3 separate regions of the Homo sapiens genome follow, and regions 2 and 3 are each linked to region 1. Evidence: promoter capture Hi-C in 16 types of primary human blood cells and fetal thymus (Javierre and others, 2016). All regions are on one chromosome and are shown on one strand. Each heading gives the region's core, a stretch centred on a gene start or on the middle of the fragment in contact. The rest is flanking DNA. Distances are from core to core; before and after follow the strand shown. Region 1 holds the start of BPGM (bisphosphoglycerate mutase). Region 2 holds the start of MRPS33 (mitochondrial ribosomal protein S33). Region 3 holds the start of WEE2-AS1 (WEE2 antisense RNA 1).

Region 1 (4,983 bases), core at 1,942-4,441:
GAGGTCAAGCAATTTGCCTAGGCTATTCTGCATTTTGCTAGCCTAGCAAAACCATTGGCTCCTTCCTTCCAGCAAACTCTAGAGTTAGCTATGATTGTGAGGCTTCCCCAGCCACATGGAACTGTAAGTCCAATTAAGCCCCTGAGTTCCCAGTGCTGGAAAGTGACAGACACAAGGTGCTTCAAAGATTGCAAAGCTATTCCAAAACTGCCTCCATGATTCTTCACCCTACTCTGTGAGGAAGATGAGGATTCTAAGTTTTAACTTCTGAAAGAAAGGGACAGACTTTAAGGTCCCTTCTGAGAGGTCTGGATGGCTGACCCATAACAGCATTTCCAGTTTTTAGTTTCAGAAAAGGGAGTCTTGTACTTAGGAGGTCAATGATGGGGGCCACGCATAGGTCTATTATACTAGGTTACGAGTGGTAAATTTTAATCTGACCCTGAAGTAAGTAGGGTACAGTTGGAGACTAAACACTGGCAGCAAATAACCAACTCATGGTGTGTCCTGATACTGTGAAGAAAAGGAGACACTCCTGTACATGGCATATAGAACTAGCTAACTCTGGAGTTTGCTGGAAGGAGGGAGCCAATGGTTCTGCTAGGCTAGCAAAAGGGAGAATAGCCTAGGTCCGTGGATGATGTTTTGATGCACGGTGGACCAATTCAGCCATACGTGGAAAAGGCTAGAGGCTCTGTGCACATAACTGTGAAATTATTTTGACCAGGTATGTATGCTATCAATAAAATAGTGGTTTATTCAGGTCACAAGGAAGACAATTTTCAACTAAAACTCAAAGTATCACATGGGTTAATACTGACTTTTTGATATACACCTGTAACAGAAAGGAAGACAAAGAGACAACATAGCTATAATAATTTATTGCTTTTCATTTCTTGTTTGGATAAAAGTGAGACTACATCAAAAGCTGTTTGATGACACTGAATTATTTTCATAGTATCTATATCACTTGCTGTATCAGAACTGAAGTCCTCATGACTGGTCTTCAATGGAAGTGAATCCTAAAATTAATCTTAATTTAAAAAATACATTGCTTTTGGGGTGAGGAGGAGAAGGCAGCAGGAAGAGGAAGCATCTTCCCAGAATTATATGAATTAGCAACCTTGGGTCCTAGCCCAGGATTTGTCCCCAACCAAGTAATTCTGAGCACATCACTTAAGCTTCAGTTTCTTTATCTGTACAACAAGGAGCTAGAGTTTAATTTCCAAAGCCCTGTCAAGTACTAAGTTTGTACAAGTCTAATATTCTTTGGAGTTCATCTTTGCCTTAAATGGATTTATGATCATCTTTGTGAACCACGACCTCGTTATTTAAAAATTCATAAGAGAGACAGCTCATCGAATAGACCAGGACACAGGGTTCAGGATATGATACTGTAACATAATTAAGTATGGAGAACAATCTTGCCATAGGGCAAAAGTAACTCCTGAAATTCTGTTAGCCTCTGTGCACATTTGTCTTACAAACATGCTTGCTCCTGATGAAAATCTGCTTTTTAATTCCTTCTAGACAGAATCACTGATATAAGCTTCCATCTTATATCAAAATGACTCATTCATAAGCCACATACTCTTGCGAATGATTCTAAAAGGCAAGTGATGTTTGATATTAAGGTTTTATGTGACAAGCTAGCATTCCATGGGTGTCCATAACAACAGTAAACTTAAATCCAATGAGTAGGCGCCCTTAAGTCCAGACTAAGTAGCCCTAAATGCCAAATGCCACAAGACTGTCACTTGGTAATGACTGTCATTAGCCTCCGGAGTATGGATGGTGGGCACTCTGAATAGGAGCTTTATTACACTGTAGAAGAAAAGCTTTCTCCTTACTTTGTCCTCAACTGATATTGAGAAAAAAGCAAGAGGGCAAATGTATAAGATTTGGAAGCTGCCCCTTCCAGCTGTTCTGGCCTGAACTCTAGTTAATCTTGTGCAAGTTAAATTCTAACTATCACTAGGTGAGACCTATCACCTGCTGGGACCTGTCAAGCCTCGGATTAGTGCCGTCCCGGAAGTAAAGTTCTGTTGATATCCCAGGAGGAACTGTCATGCTCTAACATGGATAAATGAGATACAGAACTGGCTACGATTAGGTCTTAATGAGTTCAATAAAGAGTGTGTCACAGAATTTCAAATGTGGAAAGATTATCTTTTCAACTGTATGTATAATTTATTCTGAGGACTTGCTTGCGTGTCACAAACCTAATGCATTTGTTAGGAGGATGAAACAGGAAAAACTCACAGGAGGACACGAAACACTACTTAGGATAGCTTCTAAGAAGGGAATCTCCCATAACATTCCTTATCTTTCCCGCCCACCCAAGAGTTCTGACACATATGCTTCAAAACCTCGTGTGGTAGTTCAAGCCTGCTTAGAAGCTTTTAAGGCCTCGTGCCAGGTTTCCGGTGTTTTCATAGATTTCTCTTGTTCAGTTATTGTCGCCTCCAAATTTGTCATTCTCTCATTCCACTCTAGCCTCCCTTCCTCTGTGCAATAAGCTTTTAGGGCATTCCATTAATCACTTTTCTTCCCCACCTAAAATACTGTCAGCAAACTGCCTAGGGGAATCCCTATAAAAGCGGTAAGAGAAAGTAAGGTTGCGTTACTGCCTATAAATTGGGCACTTTAAAGGCATTTGTTTTAATCACGACTTAAGACTTTCAACCACGAGTAATTTGTGCGAAAGGAGCTTCTTCTGGGAGGATACCTCGGCTTCGTCTTCAGGTTTCAATCCCTAAATTTCCCATAAGTAAAAGAAACATCACCTCCTCTCTTCCAAGAGTCCGCTGACACCTGTCTTCACCCGCAGGTGTTTCTTTTAAGACGTTAAACGCTTTCTAGAACCTCAAACAGCTAAGATGCTCCCCGCACCCGAGGTTTTGCACCAGCGACGCTCTAGGGTGTGTTTTTCTACTTCCCTAGGCCCAAGCCTGCCCGCTGGCGTCGAAGCCAACTCCTTACTGGTTCAGGTATGTGCTCGTCTCTAGAGTAAACCAATCAGAGCCCCACTTCTTACTCCTGGGATTTGGTAAACGGAAGAGACCTCTCCTGTTCCGGGAGTAGGCCGGGACCGTGGATGAGTGACAGTTCGACTTTCCAATAGGCAGAGCCCTAGGACCTGCCCACGTCTGGTTCAGGGGCTAGAAAAGAGCGTCGATGCCGGCGGCAGTGATGAGTCCTAGGAGGCGCTGGCTCTTTGGCGGCTCGGAGGAGCGGCTGCTGCTGCTGCTGCTGCTGCTGGTGGCCCCTTTGCAGGTGAGTGGCTTTGTTTTAGAAAATGTTGCGAACGTTTACATTTTTTAGTGATGTGATGTTTTATTTTTGGGTGCGGGGAAGGCCAGTTTCTTTACTTCCCCCGGTTTAGTCGTTGGTGGGAGTCTGGTGCCCACTCCAGCCCTCAAGCTGGGACCCTCACTTATCGCCCCGGTCCCTTTCCCTTGTCCCTATCTCAGAATGAGCCTCGCAGGCAGTCACCGTTCTGTCAACTGAGAGGAGGAGCCCGCTTTGGTAGTGCTGTCCTTATGGCAAGAATATATAGAAGTTGGAGGGAAGATAAACTCTCTTCTGGATGTCTGAGGTACTGTGTAGCAGAGCCCTTCCAATAGTAAGATCCCCTGGAAGGAAGCAGGGCGATGCCGCTGTATTTAGGGTTCTGGCAGACCTGGCCCTATCTATCATTTTGTGTAGTAGACAGAAAAACTCGAATGCGGTGAAAAGAGAAGGAGGTGAATATATGCAGTGTTTTCATGTAGGAATCTGGAGCCAAATCACAAGTTCTTAGAACCACTAGAAATAAAAACGTAAGTGTATTTTCCTCTTTTCTAAGGGACGAGCTGGTATTACACTAGAGAAGGTCAATGAAATGCATAATTGCAGTTAAGTTCACAGTTAAGCTTTAAAGAATAGTTGGTTGTTAGCTAACTTATAACTCTCATCCCCCTACTGCCTCCCTTGCAAATTACGGAAGATCTTTAGCTTGTGAGTGGTACTAGAATGTTAGCTGACTAAATGCAGACTCTTTCCAAGAAGGGGAAAAATCAAAAGCTAAGTTTCACCTGTAGGTACTAAAGGTTTTTTAATAGTGAAAGCAGAACTCATGTCAATTTGTCTTTTATTTTTTATTTTTTTTGAAACGGAGTCTCGCTCTGTCGCCCAGGCTGGAGCGACTGCAGTGGCTCGATCTCGGTTCACTGCAACCTCCGCCTACCGGGTTCAAGTGATTCTCCTGCCTCAGCCTCCCAAGTAGCTGGGATTACAAGCATAGGCCACCACGCCTGGCTGATTTTTGTATTTTTAGTAGAGACGGGGTTTCACCATGTTGGCCAGGGTGGTCTTGAACTCCTGACCTCAGGTGATCTGCCTGCCTCGGCCTCCCAAAGTGCTGGGATTACAGGCGTGAGCCACCGTGCCTGGCCTTGTCTTTTTTCTTTCTTTCTTTCTTTTGTTTTGGTTTTTTTTTTGTTTTGTTTTCAGACGGAGTTTCGCTTCTGTTGCCCAGGCTGGAGTGCAATGGCGCGATATTGGCTCACCGCAACCTCCGCCTCCTGGATTCAATCGATTCTCCTGCCTCAGCCTCCCGAGTAGCTGGGATTACAGGCATGCGCCCCCACGCCCAGCTAATTTTGTGTTTTTAGTAGAGACAGGATTTCACCATGTTGGCCAGGCTGGTCTCGAATTCCTGACCTCAGGTGATCTGCCTGCCTCGGCCTCCCAAAGTGCTGGGATTACAGGTGTGAGCTACCGCGCCCGGCCTTCTTTTTTTTTGAACTGCCTCCCGTGAGTCCAGGGAATAGCTCTTTCTTAGCCATCTTTGTATTCCAGTAGCACCTCATACACCGCAGATGCTCCCCAGTTGGTGGTGGACTTCAGAGAAGCATAATTCAAACAGTGTCATAGTGGAAGGAGCTCTGAGTTAGAAATCAAGAACATTGGCTTTAGTCCTGAAACTGTTACTATTTGTGT
Region 2 (4,433 bases), core at 1,490-3,989, 6.4 Mb after region 1:
CTAGAGACTGAGAGCCATTTGGGAAAAACAGACAGTAGCCCTATAAAAATAAATCCAATAGCTCAAAAGATCCATTTTCTTACTAAATAGAAGGCACGTATGAATTGTAAGGTTACTTGCTGTATCCTCCATCTTATATATTCTGCTTTAATGCAAACTACCTAAGTTCTTATCAGCTGGAAACAGTAGCTTTTTCTTCAGAGACATACAACACTGAAATGGGTATAAGAATGATATCCGTGATATGCACGAATTACAGCTAACAGACATAAAAAACTATACAGGGGATACATAAAAATCAAGAAAGCTGCTGGTGGAATAACTATCTCAACTCAGTTTAGACCAGACGTAGGGGTTATTGTTGGCAGAATATGCCAATTTATGAGAAATTTTAGTAGTGAGATGAGAATCTTTGCTGACTCAGAGACTATCCTGGGAAACAGTTCAGCTGAGATGAAAAGGTGCTGATATTCAAGCAGGAAAAAGGCATAAACTTTGAAAAACCAATGGGAGAAATGTACCAAAAACCCTCCTACATAAAAATGGTGCCAAGTGAATTTCAAAATAGTTCTTGTAAGAAAACAAACCGTGTTTAAATTAAGGAAGTTTTAATGCCTGTTTCAAGATCCATTAACAGAGGAGGCTGGGCATGGTAGCTCATGCCTATAATCCCAGTACTTTGAGAGGCTGAGGTGGGAGGATCGCTTGAGGTCAGGACTTCAAGACCAGCCCAGGCAACATGGAGAAATCTTGTTTTTACAGAAAAAAAAACAAAAAACAAAAGAAAATAAGAAAATTAGTCTGCTATGGTAGTGCACACCTGTAGTTCCAGCTACTCGTGGAGGCTGAGGAGGGGGACATCACTTGAGCACAGGAGTTTGAGGTTACACTAAGTTATGACTGCACTACTGTACTCTATAGCCTGAGTGACAGAGCAAGATTGTGTGTCAAAAAAAAAAAAAAAAAAAAAGCAGAGGCTGATCTCAAACCACTGTCAACCTCAAAACCATTCAGAACACCAACCAAGCAATTTTGGGTCAATAGTGCCACCTGAAGGCTGGCAACGGTAGAACTGTCAGATCCAACGTCCACCCCTCCCTCCCCACCATCTGCAGATCACCTACAAGCCTGTTCTTCCTTTTCCATTCAGCATTCTCAGTTTCCTGATTCACTTCTTTGCCAACTCTGGTTGGGGGTGGGGTTGTTAGGACTAGGGTTATAGTCTCAAGGTGAAAAAAATTCATTTAGCAGTTTAATGTATAAACAAATCAGTGCCATAAACCTCTAAAAAGCCTTGCAAATGTCCAGAGTCACCTAGTTTCTTTGCATGCTTTTTCTCTTCCTTTGCCCTTTAAAGTTACCTTTTTCCAAACATTAGATTAAAAAACAATAGTTGCTTCATCAACTTTGCTTTGTTTGCTTAATTACCATTGTGGCATCAGAATATATTTCTGCTGTAATTGCACAGTATTTCCACAGTTAGTTATCTGTAAGCTGGTATGGGAACTATCAGTTTGTTACAGTGTTTTCAGGAAAATCTGTTCTGAATTCCAAGTCCCTTTATTTGTCAATGAAGAGGCAACAGGGATTCCTGAGGCCTAGGTTTGACTACTGGCTCTGTCACTTAATCCTTGGGTTATTGTGAACAGTTACTCATCTTCTCTGAGTCTCCTTTTCTGAAAACAAAGCTTGCATGACTAGTGCGAAAATGAGTAACAGTGGCACTGAGTAGTAAATGGTAACTTACAAAAAAGAACGAGCCCAGATCTGTAAGTTTGGTTTTCATATATTCTACATAGACACATTTGTTTATTCCTTGTTCTTAATCATGTTTAAGAAAAAAAAAAAAAGAGAGAGAGACAGACAGATAGATACTCCATATAGTAAAAACTTTGTGCCTCCCTGGAATGATGACCTCATTTACAAAGACTGACAGCCAGAGAAACATAGGGAGAGGACCAGCACCTTGATAACTTGACAAGATAGCCAGGAGGAGGAAGGGACTCAGTAGGACAGTAGTCACTGAAGCCATCACAGGATGCTGCTGTTATGTCCATGCCCATTTTGGAATGTGGCAAATTACTGGGATACATAACTTGTAAGTAAAAAGGTCACACTAGAATAGGCTGGAACATGGTTATATCATAAAATCCAAGTCCTAAAGTTTTATGACAGAGAAAGGGAATAAGCCTTTTCAAACCTGAATCCCTTACTAGAAACAAAGGCCCACTTGCTAAACAGGAGGAAACTGAAAGTGGTTTTAACAATTACCAATGACACTGCTTTGTTGTTTCCTTCCACAGTGCACAGACACATGTCTCTCACGAAGAATAACACGGGAGCTTTTCTTACAACGTGCATGTCAATTACATTTTGATTCACATGAAACCATTCTCGGGGAGTACAAGTCACTTTAAGTGTTACCTTTCTTTAAATGTGAACTAAAGAAAACTGTACTCTCATGAAAAAAGTTAACTGGAGCTGAAAATGCTAAGCAAAAACAAATTACTCAAATGTGCTGAGCAAAACAAATTAAGCCCACATGAGAAGAAAATTCCCATATTTTTACTTTGGCATAACAGGGCAAACTTCTTTGATCTTTTTGATAGGTCTGATGCATTTAAAAGATTATTTCAATAAGTGGCTTTGTATTAGGTTTGCCTTTTCTCTTTGAAAGGTAAAGATGAAGTGCAAGAGTTCTTAACCGGGATGTGCTTCAGCGTTTTGAAAACAGTGGAAGTGTACATCTGTATGCCGATATGTGTATGTATGTGTGTGTGTAAATTGTTCTGGGAGAGAGCTTTCTCCAGTTTCCCAAAAACCATTGGTTAGCAGAACGCACCAGCTGCAGAATAAAAAAGCTGGTTGGAATCTCGCCTCTGCCTTTTAATGGCCACGTCGTTTTTGTAATGGTGCTTATTCTCTGCCAGGTTCTCTCATCGACTACACGAGGACAGTCATACTATCTGCGATGTGAAGCTAATATGCAAAATTCACGGCACAGTGCCCACCCTAATAACCATCAGGATCCAAGGAATTCACATACAGTGTACACACGTTGTCATAGAAACAATCTAAACATAAAAACAATCTCAACAGAATGCTTAAAAACAAAAAAACCCGGTACCGATTATTTTACGGAGTCATAGAGGCATCAACGGCACTGAAAATGTATTAGCTGCATTCAGTTCATCAAGAACAATCTTCAACTCCCTCCACCTGACTCGATCATGCCTGACTGTGATGGAAACTGTAGTATTGTCAAGTCAACCGATGTTTGACTCGGGAGCGCATTTCGCAAATATTTTTCTTAAATATCACCTTACCGTATTTTTCTTAAGGTGGTTACAAAATTAATCTGCAGCCCACCACCCAAAGCTACAGTGCCGAAGGCCGTGTGATGAGCAGAGAAACTGAGCCTTCTACTGTTAACCAATATGGAAGAGAGTAATTGCGCCTGAGAGGAAATTACGGCAGCGGAAACGCGGGTATTCTACGTTTAAGAAATCCCCCAACTGAGGCAGAAAAAGGCCAAGTTATTTGTGTGATGCACGTGAACCGCCCGAGCTGGTCACTAATGAAGTGGATTCGCCCTATTCCTGGCGACTCTACAAGGTTGGAGACCCCCGTAGACTTCGCAGCCATCGCCCCTTGCTGCAGACCCCCAAAGTCACCGACAGCCTTACCTAGACCTGACCTTCCTCACCCACGCGCCCTCGTCCCGGAAGGCCCGCCCTCTACCCGGCTCCAAGCTCGCGCAGGCAACTATTACGGGGAGCAGTAGAGAAACGGAAGCTTGGCAGCTAGAGCGGAGCCCTAGTGAACGACCCGGAGTTACTGGCTCCCCCTCCTGAGGCCTCCGAGGTGTACCTGGCGCCTGCGCAGTAAGGCTAGCGCCGCCGCCTGTGCGGAGGACCCGGGGAGGTGGTGGGCTGGGGAGAGTTAGAAAGGTCTGGCTCTCCTGGAAGGGCATGCACGGTTCGGTAGTATGTTTTGGTGGGAATGGCTACAGACCTGCCTCCAAAAGCTCTGAAGCAATGGCGATGCGTGTGCCGTGTGGTCTTTCTGACCGACTTGCGGCGCCATCCCCCTCCCCTTCCATCTATCTGCTCATCTTCTAATAGTTAATTAGGATCCCTAGCTGCAAGCCTTCCTTGCTACTGGGTTAGGAGCGCTTTCCCCCATTGACCCAGGAGCTTCTTCAGGGAGTAGGGGATGGAACGTTTGTCTCCTCAGTAGTTATCTTAGACCTCGCTGGGCAGATAGTAGAAAGCATTGTGAGTATTTCACCCCATACTAAATCTGTTTTCAAGCAAGCCACATCCCATAGGCATTGTATGCAGCACTTACTCAATGTTTGATAGTTTGGGTGAGGAAACTGTACTCGTTTTCTGAGTATCGTTCAAGGCATTTTATAAATATTTCAAAATGTA
Region 3 (4,790 bases), core at 2,291-4,790, 7.1 Mb after region 1:
ATGAAATATTCTTAAAATATTAAAACTAATGAAAAAAATTCATGATGAATAAAATACCAAAATTTTAAATAAAGACAAGATCAGTAAGCTGAAGTTAATTAAAATTATTTAAGGTTGTTACTTGGTCAAGAAAAATTGTGAAGGCATGGCAATTCTCTCAAAACAAGCAAAGCAGATTTGAACACATTACTGATCAGTTTACTTCCATTAAAAGTAAAGTTATATTACATCCATCTTGGCATAAATAAAATATTTAAACTTAAAACAATGTTGTGAATTTTAATACACCTGTAGTGTAACAGGTCCCCCCCACCCGGGTTACTAAAGAGTGTATGTCCACTGCCTGAATCCTGAAGGCCATGTGGCAAGGCCAAGGTGACCAGCCAAAGAGCAGCTGTTTGAGAAGCCAAACATCCCAGAGAATATCTGAGAACCTACCAAAGAAAACAGCTCCATCACACACAGTAGGCTAAAAGCCAGAAAATTAGCTTACAAGTAGCTTAGGGATGGGAGGCCAGGCGGATCTCTACAGCTGTCATGCTGCCATCCAGGAGTGCCTTGTATGTAAGTCCTGATAAACTCCTCTACTCGCCAAGCTGGACTTGTCTGGGTCAATCTTTGGTTTCTCGGCTTCCTCTCAGTTTGGGGGAAGGTTTTTATTAATGCAATTCTGGGTTTTTCTTGTTACAATATCTACTTTAAAAATTTTCAATACTTCTTCAACTACTTTAATGTTCTGGAAATATATGTGTATATATATTGATATATAACACATATACATATATATTGATATATATACACATATATACATACATATATTTTGTGTGATGATATATATATACCGTCTCAAAAATATATATGTGTATATATATTGAGATATATATACACACATATTTCATTCATACATATTGATATATATACACATATATATATACACACATATATATATTTTTTGAGACAGGGTCTCTCACTCTGTTGCACAGGCTGGAGTGCAGTGGTGTGATCATGGCTCACTGAAGCCTCAACTTCCCAGGCTCAAGCGATCCTCCCACTTCAGTAGCTGGGATTATAAGCACATACCACTATGCCTGGCTAATTTTTTTTTTTTTTTTTTGAGACGGAGTCTCGCACTGTTGCCCAGGCTGGAGTGCAGGGGCACGATCTCAGCTCACTGCAAGCTCCGTCTCCCGGGCTCTCGACATTCTCCTGCCTCAGCCTCCCTAGTAGTTGGGACTACAGGCACCCACTACCACGCCCAGCTAATTTTTTGTATTTTTAGGTAGAGACGGGGTTTCACCGTGTTAGCCGGGATGGTCTCGATCTCCTGACCTCGTGATCGGCCCGCCTTGGCCTCCCAAAGTGCTGGGATTATGGGCGTGAGCCACGGCGCCCGGCTGCCTGGCTAATTTTTGTATTTTTTACAGAGACAGGGTTTTGCCATGTTGCTCAAGCTGATCTTGAACTCCTGGGCTCAAGTGATCCACCCCCTCAACCTCCCAAAGTGCTGGGATTACAAACATGAGCTACTGGACCTGGCCAAAATTTTTTTAATTAAACATTTTTTTTTGTTTTTGTCTTTATTTTTAATTTTTGTGGGTTCAAAGGAAGTGTATATATTTATGGAGTACATGAGATATTTTGATACAGGTATGCAACGTCAAATAAGCACATCATGGGGGATGGGGTATCATCTTAATTTATCCTTTGAGTTACACACAATCCAATAACACTCTTATTTTAAAATGTACAGTTAAGTAATTATTGACTATAGTCAACCTATTGTGCCATCGAAAATAGTAGGTCTTATTCGTTCTATTTTTTTGTACCCATTAACCATCCCCACCTTCCCTCCAGCCCCCCACTAACCTTCCTAGCCCCAATTTTTAAAAATACATAAGTACACATATACACAGGGGTGCATATTCTTCCTTGTGCCTCAGGCTCCAGTCTGGCTTGGATCCTGTATTCAGTTAAAATTTTAATACAGTCATGCACTTCATAATGATGTTTTGGAAAAAGACTGCATATACAACAGTGCATATACAAAGGTGGTCCCATAAGATTACAATGGAGTTGAAAAATTCCTATCGTCTAGTGACATCATACCTGCTAAAACATCAGAATGCAATGTATTACTCATGTGTTACTTGATATTAATAATGACTATGTCACTGGTTTATGTATTTACTATACTTTTTATTATATTATTATTTAACTTATTTTTTAAAAGTTAACTGTAAAACAGCCTCAGGCAGGTCCTTCAGGAGGGATTCCAGAAGAAGACACTGTTATAGGAGATGACAGCTCCCTGTGTGTCACTGCTTCTGAAAACCTTCCAGTGGGACAAGATGTGGAAGTGGAAGGCTGAGATTGATCATAATGACCCTGTGTAGGCCTAGGCTAATGTGTGTGTTTATGTCTTAGTTTTTTTAAAAAATGGCTAAAAAGTTAAAAAAAAAAAGAAAAAAAGCAAAGGTAGAAAAAAGCTTGTAGAATAAGGATATAAGAAAAATATTTTTGTACAGTGGTACAGTGTGTGTTTTAAGCTAATTGTTATTACAAAACAGTTAAAACGTAAAAAAATTTGGAAGATTTATAAAGTTATAGTGAGTGAAAGTTTATTAAAGGAAGAAAAGTATTTTTTATAAACTGAGTGTAGCCTAAGTGTACAGTGTTTATGAAGTGTTTAGTGGGTACAATAATGTCCTAGACCTTCATGTTGGGCCACCACTCACTCATTTACTCACCCACAGCAACTTCCAGTTCCGCAAGCTCCATTCATGGTAAGCGCCCCATACAGGTGTGCCATTTTTATCTTTTATACCGCATTTGTACTGTACCTTTTCCATGTTTACATATGTTTAGACACACAGATACTTACCATGAATTACAATGGTCTGCGGTATTCAGTACAGCCCCATGCTGTCAGGTTTGCAGCCTGGAAGCAGCAGGCCACACCACAGAGCCGAGGTGTGTCCAGGCTCCACCATCTAGGTCGTCAAAGTACATTCTGTGGTGTTCGTACAGCAACAAAATCGCCTAATGACGCAATCCTCAGACCTTACCCTGTTGTTAAGGTACACATGACTCTTATTTTGTTCCTCCCGGATTTCCTGCATTAATTTTTACTTTTTAAAATATTACATTAATATATTATTTGATTGCCAGTTTTTCTGGTGCTCCCTTAAATTGCACAGCCTGCCAGCCCTTCCCTGGCTCCCCTTTCTTTTTCTGCTTTTCTTAGTGCTTCAACAGACCTGGGACGTTCTTTTTCTTTCTTTTTTTTTTTAATTTTCTTCTTTTTTTCTTTTTCTTGTTTTGTTTTGTTTTGTTTTGAGATAGAGTTCGCTCTGTTGCCCAGGCTGGAATGCAGTGGTGCGTTCACGGCTCAATGCAGCAACGACCTCCAGGGCTCAGGCGATCCCCCGACCTCAGCCTCCGGAGAAGCTTGGACCACAGGCGCGCGCCACCACGCCCAGCTAATTATATATTTTTTGTAGAGACAGGTCTCACTATGTCGCCTAGGCTGGTCACAAATGTTGCTTTTTTTTCCCTCCAGGCAGAGCTAGTCTCTGTTTTGCCTACCTCGCCCCCTCCTGGGCCCAGTTAGAAACCTCATCACATAATTTCATTTCTTTCCAAACTTGAAACCTTCTAAACTTGAAACCTTCTAAACTTGAAACCTTCCAAACTCACCACTTGGCGGCGTTGATCCATCCGCCCGCGCACAAAGAGAAGATCGCGGAACTTCAGAGTTAAGGGGAGCCGTTTCCCGCAGCGCTAGCCGGCAGTATTTCCAAGGCGCAAGTTGCGGAGTTTCTGTTTCCTTTTTCCTCTGGCGAGCTTTGCGTTCCCTGTGCGCCGGAAGTGATCCCCTGCGTGGCTGGGCTGCTCGGGTTAGATCGTCAGGTGAGGGAGGAAGGGATAGCCAGCGCGAAGGAAGTGCTGGAGTCGTGTGTTTTGGCTGCGCGTGATCCTGCGTGGGTCGGGAGGTGTTTCTGTGTAGGTGTCTGGCCCTTTCATCAGTCGTGCGGAGGACCGCGTGATTTCCTTCCAGTTCTCCTCGGTTTTCAGGTGGTGGCGCCATCTTCGGTAAAGGGTGTCCACCTCTCCCTATGGTGTGGCTGGCTAGCCCGGGGGTCTCTACGCTGCTTGGTCTTTGTTAACGGAGATGAAGGCAGTAATTTTTCAGTAACAGGTTTCAGATATAAGTCCCTTGGTGATGCTAATATTTATGGAGGCCTTACTATGCATTAAGAACTTTTTTAGAAGTTTAGAAAATGGCAGTGAATAAAGCAGATACAAATCTCTGCTCTAAGGGAGCTTGCATAGTAATGAAATTTGAGAAGACAGTGGATTGGAAGTGGGATTAACTCAGAATCAAAATTTTGTCGATGGGTTGGAGGAAGAGGAAGTTATTTGGGACCAAAAAGACATACAGGTGTGAGTTTATTTGGGAGGGAGGAAGGAATCCTCATCAGATGTGCAGGAATGTTGGTACGTTGTGGTCACAAAATTGGAGTGCATAAAAATTATGAATATAGTTAGGAATTTAGGACTGGTGAGTTGTACTTTTGCCATAAGAGGTAATGTTTTTTTCTTATTTTGTTTTTTTCCTTCAGGAAAAGCCTAAAGATTAGACTGTAAGAAAAGAAAATAGAAGCCATGTTTCGAAGACCTGTATTACAGGTAGTCACTTGTCTGTATTAATACTGAGATGTATTACTATCAGCCACAGTGATCAGAAGACTTCTTTAGGCTTTTAACTACAGGGGCAAAAGACCTTTGAG

What was found. Contacts are between HindIII fragments. The CHiCAGO score rates a contact against its expected background, and 5 or more counts as called.
Region 2: a fragment that was not itself captured here is called in contact with the fragment with the promoter of BPGM in region 1 in 5 of 17 cell types (fetal thymus, total B cells, neutrophils and 2 more); the score reaches 19.7 in fetal thymus.
Region 3: the fragment with the promoter of WEE2-AS1 here is called in contact with the fragment with the promoter of BPGM in region 1 in 3 of 17 cell types (total B cells, activated CD4 T cells and fetal thymus); the score reaches 9.4 in total B cells.

What each region holds. Positions count from the first base shown.
Region 1 is chr7:134,643,662-134,648,644 of GRCh38, forward strand. BPGM (bisphosphoglycerate mutase) reads left to right here and starts at 3,192. Exons shown (of 3, transcript NM_001724.5): 1 at 3,192-3,276. All of the region lies in intron 1 of LOC124901750 (a long non-coding RNA gene), which reads right to left. RefSeq lists enhancers at 3,169-3,318, 3,419-3,528. The HindIII fragment of the contact is 1,395 bases long and covers 2,518-3,912 here.
Region 2 is chr7:141,011,225-141,015,657 of GRCh38, forward strand. MRPS33 (mitochondrial ribosomal protein S33) reads right to left here and starts at 3,728. Exons shown (of 3, transcript NM_053035.3): 1 at 3,687-3,728. RefSeq lists enhancers at 2,167-2,236, 3,379-4,024, 3,487-3,536, 4,057-4,256 and a silencer at 3,601-3,909. The HindIII fragment of the contact is 2,107 bases long and covers 1,687-3,793 here.
Region 3 is chr7:141,734,502-141,739,291 of GRCh38, forward strand. It overlaps WEE2-AS1 (WEE2 antisense RNA 1), which reads right to left and starts at 3,541. Exons shown (of 4, transcript NR_199841.1): 1 at 2,882-3,541. It overlaps SSBP1 (single stranded DNA binding protein 1), which reads left to right and starts at 3,857. Exons shown (of 7, transcript NM_003143.3): 1 at 3,857-3,909; 2 at 4,623-4,689. The coding sequence starts at 4,666. RefSeq lists an enhancer at 2,874-3,759. The HindIII fragment of the contact is 7,644 bases long and covers 3,446-4,790 here.